Linked DNA regions of Homo sapiens: regions 1 and 2 are each linked to region 3. Evidence: promoter capture Hi-C in 16 types of primary human blood cells and fetal thymus (Javierre and others, 2016). All regions are on one chromosome and are shown on one strand. The core of a region is centred on a gene start or on the middle of the fragment in contact, and the rest is flanking DNA. Distances in the headings are between cores, read along the strand shown. Region 1 holds the start of CPSF6 (cleavage and polyadenylation specific factor 6). Region 2 holds the start of LYZ (lysozyme). Region 3 holds the start of RAP1B (RAP1B, member of RAS oncogene family).

The links. The method cuts DNA at HindIII sites, captures the fragments that hold promoters and counts their contacts. A CHiCAGO score of 5 or more calls a contact.
Region 1: a contact is called between the fragment with the promoter of CPSF6 here and the fragment with the promoter of RAP1B in region 3, in 1 of 17 cell types (neutrophils). The highest score is 7.4, in neutrophils.
Region 2: the fragment with the promoter of LYZ here is called in contact with the fragment with the promoter of RAP1B in region 3 in 1 of 17 cell types (neutrophils); the score reaches 8.5 in neutrophils.

Annotation. Positions count from the first base shown.
Region 1 is chr12:69,237,759-69,241,142 of GRCh38, reverse strand. CPSF6 (cleavage and polyadenylation specific factor 6) reads right to left here and starts at 1,574. Exons shown (of 10, transcript NM_007007.3): 1 at 1,437-1,574. The coding sequence starts at 1,496. RefSeq lists enhancers at 258-837, 838-1,418 and silencers at 882-1,101, 1,252-1,751. The HindIII fragment of the contact is 17,360 bases long and covers 1-3,384 here.
Region 2 is chr12:69,347,072-69,350,618 of GRCh38, reverse strand. LYZ (lysozyme) reads right to left here and starts at 2,238. Exons shown (of 4, transcript NM_000239.3): 1 at 2,075-2,238; 2 at 347-511. The coding sequence starts at 2,210. The HindIII fragment of the contact is 11,988 bases long and covers 1-3,547 here.
Region 3 is chr12:68,609,229-68,612,673 of GRCh38, reverse strand. It overlaps RAP1B (RAP1B, member of RAS oncogene family), which reads right to left and starts at 1,775. Exons shown (of 8, transcript NM_001010942.3): 1 at 1,631-1,775. RefSeq lists a silencer at 1,459-1,918. The HindIII fragment of the contact is 9,459 bases long and covers 1-3,445 here.

The DNA of each region.
Region 1 (3,384 bases), core at 325-2,824, 630 kb before region 3:
TTTTTCTGTTTTCTAATATTTAAACCAGAGGCACAAAGTCATTCCTGAAAAATAAAACAGTAAAGATCTCTTGAGTTTCCTTGTTTTTTAAAAAGCCTGAGCAACTAGTCACGAATATGATGGTTAATGGAGGTGGGAAAACCACATTAGCCAGTAATATTTCATTAAACTTCTCATAGGGACCTGGGAAATACAAAAAAATAAGGCTTTTAGGAACATTGCAGTTAAGCACAATTTAATTGTTTTAAATGTGTTACTACATAAAATGCAGTAGATACGAACAGCAGGTTCAAACCTTAAACGTCACTAGCAACAAACGACATCTTTTGCAAGGATGCCCATTAACAGACATCACAGCCCCGCGTTACCTCTAAGCAACGTCGTTCAGGAAAACCTTGCATTCTCACTTTCGCTCAACCTTTCAAAAGGTAACACGGGGCCCGGGGGTGGGGGTGGGGGGATTTAACACTTTGTTTTCGAAAATAGGGTCTTATCTATAACTCTTTATTTTTAAACCACATCATAAGGATTTGGGGTGAACGTTCTTTCATTTTAATCACTATGAGATCTGTGGGTGAGCTAACATCTTTTTGTTCCATCCAACCATCGCGCTTCCAATTCTTCCTTTTGGTCCCCGGCCACTCATCTTCACAGGTATTTTCATCACAAAGGCCAACAACGACTGGGCTTCAAAGCACTGCAAGCCCTGGATTAATGAGGCAGGACCAGCGCACCGACTTTTATCTGTGGCTCCAAAAGTCAAAGGACTTGTTGCAAATGAGCCCGCACCTCAGTCGCCTTCAGAAAGTGTGAGGGGAGGAGGAAGGCGCCACGCCGAAACCTGTCGCAAACCCGAGAAGGAGAGCCCCGGGGACTGGGCGCGCGGGATACAAAGGGCCGTGAACGCGGCCTTCCATGAGGCGACAGTGCGCGGGCAGGGAGACAAAATGGAGCGATGGGAGGAATCGGAGCCCGAGCGGCAGCGGCGGGGAAGGGGCGGCGGCGGCGGGCACGCGCCCCGCCAGGGCTTCCTCCTCCGACCAGCGACGGGGGAGGGGGCGCGGCGGCGGCCAGTTCTCTCCGCCGCTTACACGCGGCCCCACCGCCCGGGCCTAGCGCGGCGGGAAGCGCCAGCCGGGTGCCGCCAACAATAGGGAGCGAGGCAGCGCCGGCGAGGGAGGAGCCGGCGGCAGCTGCACAGCGGCCCGCGTCCGCGCTCCGGGCCCCGCGGCGACTCGCCGCGCCCGCGGCCCGTGAAACGACGCGGTAGAACGAGGGGCGGGGGGGCGCCACGCCAGGGGTCGGCGGCGCGGCCCAGAGGCGGCAAGGGCGCACACTCTGCAGTCGCTTCGGCTCGCGGCCGCAGCGGGCCCCGGGTCAGCTTCCCGGCCGCAGCGCCGCCCGCGTCGGCGGCGGGGACCTGGGCTCTCACGTACCTGGTTGAACTCTTCGCCGACATCCGCGTAAATGTCTATGTGGTCCACGCCGTCCGCCATCTTCCTTCAGCCTCGGCCGCCGCCGCCGCCGCCGCCTCCTGCAGGTCTGCCCGCCGCGGCAGCAGCAGCGGATCTAGCGGCGGTGGGGGGGCGCTTGCGTCACTTCCGAGGCCCGAGGGAGGGAGGCGCGGGCGACAGGGGCCGGCCGGGGGCGGGGACTCTGCAGCCCAGCCGCTCTGCTGGCTGAGGAAAGGCTGCGCCTCTGAGGGCAGAGGACGTTTCTTTTGTGTCTGGGTGAGGCCCGGGAGTGGGGGCCAATTTTTTTGTCCTACTCGCGCATCCAGCTTAGCAGTGGGTCCCACCTGTTTCCACACACCGTCTTTTCACGTGGCCTCTGGCATACTCAGACGTTTTGTTAATATTTTCATTTATCCGTTGTTCTTATCTTTCTCACATCCAGGACTTTTAAAGGTGGAAGTTATATGTCCGTGCTTAAATGCAAAGTGTAACCCCCGGGCATTCTGTGAACGGCTTAAGACCAAAAACAATGTCTTGTTTCTGCATCCTCAGAGACCAGCAGAGTTTTATTTGCATCGTAAACGCTAGATACCCGTCAGTGGTTATCTTTGCATGCTGTTTATGTTGCCATTTCCATCTCTAATCTTCGTGGGCTTCTTTCCCCCCCACCTTCCTCTCGCATTCATTGCCATTCATTTTTTCTTCCTTAGATCTACAGTAGGTTGTCTCTGGCGTAGTTCAGATGCTTCTAACATGAATGCAGTCATCTTAGAGCACACCCAAGAGAGTGGAGGTATCTTGAGGCCAGGGGGGCTTCTCTCTCAGAATCCTAGAATGTCCCAACGGGAAGGGAACTGGAAAGGTGTCCTTAGGTCTAAACATCTCATTTTACAGAAGAGAAGACTGAGGCCTAATAGAACCTAAGTGATTTAACCAGGTCACATGGTCAATAAAGGTAGGAACATTCAGCCACGATACTTTACTCAAAGATGTCTCTCCAGTTTGAAACTTTCCCCTCCATTCTTAATTTCTTTTTCACTCATTAAAAAATATACTGTAGTAGAGCGTGTTTCCTGAGAAACTGGCCAGAAATCATTCATAGAATAACCCAAACAACATCTGTAAGGTTGGGCATCTCTAATCCAAAAATTTGAAATGCTCCAAAATCTGAAACTTTTTGCGCACTGACATGATGCCACAAGTGGAAAATTCCACACCTGATCTTATTTGCCAGGTCGCAGTCAAAAATGCAATCAAAACTTTTTTTCATGCACAAAATAACTAAAAGTATTGTATGAAATAATCTTCAGGCTGTGTGTATAAGGTATATGTGAAACATAAATGAATTTCGTTTAGGCTTGGGTCCCATCTCCTGGATAATTTATGTATATGCAAATATTCCAAAATCCCCTCAAATCCAAGCATTTTTGCATAAAAAAGACTCAATCTGCACTTGGTATGGTGGAAAAAGCATGGTTGCAGTCCTGGAGGCCAGTCTGGTGATCTGGGTACCCATTTCTAATCAGACATTTTATCAGCTAGATGACCTCAGTCAAGTTTTCAACTCTCATATTCAATCTCAGAATCTTTAAAATCCAAGCAATAATATCTACCTCACCAAGGTTGAAGGTTGGTGATACTTTAAATGAGTTAATATGAGTTAATATGCAAAGTGTCCTGTCCTGTTCCAAGAATCAGTATTTAAATACTGATTCACTTTCTTTCTTGGGGCATTATAGAAGAAAAGAGACACTGACGTTTAAAGGTGAGAGTATTTTCTAGATTGGTGGTGTGGTAGAATAATGGCCCACCATAGATGTTCATATTCTGATCCCTGAAATCTGTGAATATGTTACCCTTGCAGATATGATTAAGTTAAGGATCTTGAGGTAGGGATAGGGATACCTTGATTGTCCGGTAGGCTCAAAGT
Region 2 (3,547 bases), core at 989-3,488, 740 kb before region 3:
AAAAAGTAAAACAATTGAAAAAGGACCATACAACTAAATTATCCCAAAACCTCCCCAAAGTAAGCAGGAGCAATGGCATTGTTCTGGACAAAGCATCAGTAAGGCCATTGACAGTAAATTAATAGGTCATTCCAGAAACTTCTGTATATTAAAAAACATCAACCTTTTATGATACCACTTCTTTAATTTCTTACTCAGGGAATTATGAGGAAAATAATAATGACTTTCTGGAAGTTGAGATGTAGTTTTTCTAGGTCCCTCATGAACCTTTCAAGGCTTTTTCATTTGTATTGAGTCTCAATTCTTGTAAGTATAACCAGATTGGTCAAATATTAGCTTGTCTTACCACTGCAGGATAAATGACAGGCATTAACTGCTCCTGGGGTTTTGCCATCATTACACCAGTAGCGGCTATTGATCTGAAATATCCCATAATCAGTGCTTCTGTCTCCAGCATTGTAGTTTGTAGCTCGTGTGTTGTAACCACTCTCCCATTTGGCCAAACACATCCCTGAAAAGAACTTATTTTTAGTAATAAACAGCAACACTAAGTGACTTATACTCTATAGCAAAATCAGTTCTACTTAGCTACTTCTATTTTACTGATTTGTTTTATAAGTATAAAGATTTACTTATAAAATATCTTAGCACTTTAGTGTTAAGATAAGGGACTTGTAAGAGAATCCTTTTGTAATGCAAATCATCTTGTAACACCAACGAACAATATAACATACTTTTAAAATATTAAAATACATGTTTGTTCCATTGCTTTTACCCTTCCCGTGCTCCCATCCCTCAGGCAACATTCAGCCAAGAACAGAAAAATCAACAGAGCTGTTGAGTAGATTTTGTAAATTCATAGCAGATACATAGGCTGATGGAAAAATGCTTTTTTTAATCAGAAAAACATAAGGATTTTCTGATAGAAATTTTCTTATAATATCTAAAGGTGAATTTGGATATCAAGTTAGAATCTTGAAAACAAGACTATTCCGTGATTTCATCCCTTCACTCATTCATTCAAAAATAGCTATTGAGGGGAAATGTCTGAATTCAATCTGAAAACTACAGAGATTATTACATCGACAACTATGTACTAAACTATAAAATAACTTTTCCTCATGGCACATCTTGAATTGTGTGGGAGAAAATGAAAGATAGTTAATCAAGTAGAGTAGATAAAAATAATAAAACATTTCATGCTGAGTTTCTGGGATCCTATACAAAGAGTGACTGAAGGGAACTAGGTTCCTACTGCTCTTGTGTAGGGAATTCAATATATTCTTTAAAAACATCACTGTTAAAAATCCCATGTCGGCTGGGTGCAGTGGTTCACACCTGTAATCCTACCACTTTGGGAGGCTGAGGTGGGCAGATCATTTGAGGCCAGGAGTTCAAGACCAGCTTGGCCAACATGGTGAAACCCCATCTGTACTGAAAATACAAAAAATTAGCTGGGTGTGGTGGTACACACCTGTAGTCACAGCTACTCAGAAGGCTGAAGCACGAGAATCACTTGAGCCCAGAAGGCAGAGGTTGCAGTGAGCTGAGATCATGCCACTGCACTCCAGCCTGGGCCACACAGTGAGACTGTCTTTAAAAATAAAATAAAATAAAATAAAAATAAAAATAAAAATCCCACATCACGGCAGGGGACTTGAAGACAAGAAAAATACTGCATCACTCTAGGCTCTCAGAGCCCAAGTTCAAAATGGGAAATAACTGGAGTCACATACCAAGGACTTGAGAGAGCTCTGCCAGGTCCTCAAATGTATCTTTCAGTCAGCTTACATGTGCCATTGAATCTCAGGCACCCAGCAAACTTCCTAGCACTAGAACAGTACAACAGGTCCTGTTTTACTTAGAATGGAATTTTCCCCTGCCATGCCCGTATTCCTTTATCGGGTATCTCTGGTTATAAAGAACCAAACTGATGTTTTTAGCCATTGTAAGTATACAAACCCACAAAGAAATAAAACATCTATTCACTCAAAGCCCCTTCTTCTTCTTCCTTCTCTCCTAGTGTCTGTTCCATACGTAGCTAATTCTCTGGAATTATGGAGAGTAGACTTACAGTTTGCTAGGCTGATTCCCCTGTAGCCATCCATTCCCAATCTTTTCAGAGTTCTGGCCAACTCACACCTTTCAAAGACCTTGCCCTGGACCGTAACAGAAAGGAGGACAAGCCCCAGAACAATGAGAGCCTTCATGTTGACTGCTAGGTCAGAGTGCTAGGCTGACCAGGGTGAGCTGGCCCCAGTATTTAACATCTTTTAACTTCCTTCTTCCCCTTGTGGTTTGGGGGCTCCACCCTTTCAGTTGTGTGGAAAACAGGAACTGTCTATTGATCCACTGACTCTAAAGAGATTTTTTTAATGCTTGAAGAGAGATATGCTGATGTCCTAAGAATTAGTCTACAGGAAAATAATGAAATGGAATTGTTTAAAGTACTGGCTCTGGAAGAATTGGGGCATAGCACTACTTCCAAGACAGGAACTTTCTTCTGTTTGATTATGAATTTGAGCAATTATAAAGAAAAAAATGACTATTTTGTGCAGCTTAAAATGAGCTGTGATTTTTGAGTAACATTCAATTTTGTGAAATTGTTTTGTATGCATTCACTTTTTTATATTTATCTTTTTTACTTAAAATTATTTTACATATCTTTTCCACAAAATGGACATGACACATGTGCCTGTTGTCTTAATGGGTGTATAGTGTGACACCACGTTGCTCAGCTAGTTTCTTACTCTAGACTCTTTTTGTTACTATAGCAAATTTTTTATTATTATAAATCAGTGTTTTACTATTATAAATAAGGTTCATGTGAACAACTTTACCAACTACCTTTTTTTTTTTTTTTTTGAGATGGAGTCTTACTCTGTCACCAGGCTGGAGTGCAGTGGCGCAATCTCAGTTCATTGCAACCTCTGCCTCCCGGGTTCAAGCAATTCTCCTGCCTCAGCCTCCCAGGTAGCTGGGACTACAGGCATGTACCACCATGCCCAGCTAATTTTTGTATTTTTAGTAGAGACAGGGTTTCACCATGTGGCCAGGATGGTCTGGATCTCTTGACCTCGTGATCCGCCCGCCTCGGCCTTCCAAAGTGCTGGGATTACAGGTGTGAGCCACCACATCCGGCCTACTTTACCAACTACTTTTCACAATACTTTGCCTCCCCTTTCCATATTAGAACATAAGGGGTCATTAGAAAGCAACAGCATTTTAAAAATAAAACCTACCCAAACATATATCCAACTAAATGCTACCTTTGAAAATAGCAATCTCAGGAGGCTGTGCACAGCTTTTAAAACAATGCTACCAGAACTCAAAAAGAACTGCACTTCTGTATCTGCCTAAGAGGACAGATTCTGAGCCACACAAAGTGTCATCACTTTGTAGTTACCCTTATTTTTCATCAGTGGCCTCTAAAGATTACCAGATTTGGTTTTAAATGACAGTTCAAGGACCCTGTTCAAAAATCAAGAATAATCTCATTTTTCAGGCTAGGCCTAATTTTGATTCTTCAATAATAAATAGGGCCAGG
Region 3 (3,445 bases), core at 526-3,025:
TGGTTTTTTCTCCTATTTGACTAAGGTACCCACTTTTTAAAAGTGCGATATGGGAAGAATATTCTTTGTAAGATGATAATTCACTATAAAAACGTTGTATTTCTTTCTCCATGTTGTCTCTTACGGATAGACTACTGTCCTAAAGGTCAGTGGACCCACTAACTGGTTATCTTATCTAGGCCTCAGTTTCCTCCTCCATAAAATGACAGGGTGGGACTGGATGATCTAAATAGTCCCTTCCGGCCCTTAAAAAGTCCCATGACTCCACTATGACTCAATAAATACTATTTCAAGAGTCAGCTTTTAAGAATAATATGGGCTTGAAGTTAAATGAATGTCTCCCTTTTCTATAAGTTACTTTTTGTTAAGATAAGGTCTTGTTGAGCAAGTCCAAACAGTATTCTAATTACGAAAAAAGAGAGCTGAAAAATAAATTTACAAGTCAGAGCTTTAAATTGTTAAGTACTCGACATATATGAGATGCTGCCTGCAAAACCAAAATCCAATTAGACGGAATTAATTTTAAAATACTAAAATCACAATCTTCATTTAGTGTCAACTTTCTACCCCGTAAAAATGTGATTTCCCCTTACTGCAACACAGAACTGCTTCTATTCATACCAATCAGAAGTTACAGGGCCAAAATGTTTTTCTAAACTATTAAAGAGAGTGGGAGAGGGGGGAAAGCGAAGGGGAAGGAAACCATCTGCTTTAACTTGCAAAAATGATCTTTTCTCCAAAAGACATCAGTGTTTTTCAGAAGAAAAATCCGGAGAGCCCGGTTCACTGGGCGTAGTTTTAAATAAAATTCATGGCGCTGATAGTTTTAGGATTAGACACCTCGAGATGGCGAAAAAGAGAAGAGGACAAACTTCCTGGATTTTCTCTCCCTCTAAGAGAAAGAGATTTCCTCTTGCTGACGAAGGGAAAGGCCCCTTTAACAGTTTTTCTCTACACGGTGGCTGCTGCCAGACTAAGTGGGGCTCTCTCCGCTGCCTTCCTCCTGCCACTTCCCGCAACAAATGGAGCAAGCAAGCCCCGTTTCAGGCAAACTTTTTCGCTGTCAGGCTCAAGCCCGCGGGGCGCCTGGGAGTGGTTTCCCCCGAAGGCTCCTCGCCCTAGCTCGGGGCTGGGAGAAGCTAGGTCTTCGCAAAGGACAACTTTCTGGTTTCCGTTCTAACTTCCACCCATACCACGGAGGGAACCCAGGCGACAAGCGAGGGGGCTCGGGGCGGGGAGCGAGTCTTCGGGGGAGCCGGCGGGGAAAGGAGGGCGGCGGGAGAAGCTGCGGCGGACGCGGGCTGAAGAGAGCGGGCGGGTGGGGGGGTCCTCGGGCTCTCACTTCCTCCGCCATATTTCAGACATTTGACCCCTTCCGCAAAGCGCGCTGTTCTCCCGCGGCGGCGGCGGCTGCTCCTCCTCGCCGGCCCGCAAGGCAGCGCGCTCGCGGGCCCGGCGCCTGGCCCTCGCGCCACCTGCCGCGCGCCGAGGGGCTGCCGCCGCCGGGGCCCCTGACCGCCGCGCCCGGCCCGCGCCTCGCCGCACCCCACCCGCTCCCCTCAGCCGGCGCCCGGCCCCGCGCGGCCGCCGCCGCGGCTTCCCTCAGCGGCCACGCACTCACTCTGCGAACCTCTCACGCTGTCACCGGGTCCCTGCAGCCAGCGTCGCCCCGCGCTCCCCCCGGGTCGCTACTCTAGGCGCCACGGCGGTCCTGCCGCTGCCGCGCCGCTCCGGCTGGTTTACACGCCTGAATCTGGGCGAGGTTTGGCGATGTCGCCTTGACGTCAGGCGTTCAGCCTCGCTCCAGCTTCCGCCCGCGGGCGGGGCGCGCGGGTGCGCGGCCCGGGAAGGGGCGGGCCTAGGGGGCGGGGCGAGGGGAGCCGAGGGGGCGGGGCCGCCGCGCGCCGGGTCCTCGGCGCCGGCCTCTAGCCGGCCTGCATCGCAGCCGGAGCGCAGGCCCTGCCCACGGGCCCCTTAGCTGCCTCTGGGCGGCATGTCTGCCGAGGTTCTTCTCTCTAGCTGCGCCGCGCCTTCAGGCTCGCTTCCCCAGGCTGTCTGGTGGGCGGAATCCGCGCGTCGGTGTTCCTGACCCTCGTGGGTTCCAGTGGAACCCTCCGAAACCCAAAAGGCGCCGCCTCTTAATGCAAACTGTAGTCACCGACTCGTCCAGTCTGTTGGTATTCGCGTCGTCCTTTGTGCTGGGCAAAGTAACCGAGAAGTAACGGAGAGCGCGCATTTTCTACACCTAGAGCTCCCCGAGGGAGCCTGGGCCAGCAAGTCTTTCCATTCTTGAGATGCCTTTTCTCCTGGATTGACAAGTGTTTTATCCATTGGTGTCTTAACCCGGGCGAACTCTTTCCAAATTCCCATGCCAAACGCAGTTAACAAATCGATGATTTCTAAATAAGTTTGTACCCTGCACCTAAACCAACGCCATTTATATAACTAAAATAAATTGCGTATTTAAATGCATGTCCTGGACGCTTTATTCACTTCACAGGATTACCCATAGGCAAGTAGGTTTATCGTGTGACTTCAGGGCACCAGAAAACACTTTCTGTTCCAAAATGCCTCGTTCCAAAAAGGGCGGGAACTTAACACGGGAATTTACCATTCTTACTTACCCTTAGTACAAGAAATTTATCAGAACTTTTTCTTGAAGCAGTTTTGATGGGCGAGGAGATTAAGAGAGCAAAGTGCAGGGAAAAGGGATTGAGGGGTCATTTAAGACTAACTTTCTTGGTTCATAATTTAATTAGGCCCTGTACAAATTATTCTTGAAATAAATCTTAATAAACGTTGATAAATTTGGAAGATAAATGGAATGTGACTAATTTCACTCCGTTTAAGAATATGTAGTGATTGAAAACTAAGCTAACCTAAGTTAAATGAATAGATGAGAATGAATTATAACAGTTCTCTGTGTTTTATAATGTTTTACAATTTAGGTTAATTGAGTAGATTACCTATTTCGATAATTTCTATTTCCTTAGAAAAATATCTTTTTAAAAATTGTTTATTGTCTGCATTTATTGTGTATACAACATGATCGTTTGAAGTAATGTATACATTGTTACATTACCTCACAGAGTTACCTTTTTTTTTGAGAGTCTTGCTCTGTCACCCAGGCTAGAGTGCAGTGGCATGATCTCGGCTCACTGGAATTTCTGCTTCTCAGGTTCAAGAGATTCTCCTGTCTCAGCCTCCCGAGTAGCTGGGATGACGGGCGCGTGCCACCACGCCCAGCTAATTTTTAGTAGAAAGGGGATTTCGCCATGTTGGCCAGGCTGGTCTCGAATTCCTGACCTCAGGTGATGCGCTCGCCTGGGCCCCCCAAAGTGCTGGGATTACAGGCGTGACTCACCGCGCCGGCTGAGTTAGCATTTTTTTTTTCTTTTTTGAGACAGAGTTTCGCTCTTGTTGCCCAGGCTGGAAGGCAATGGCG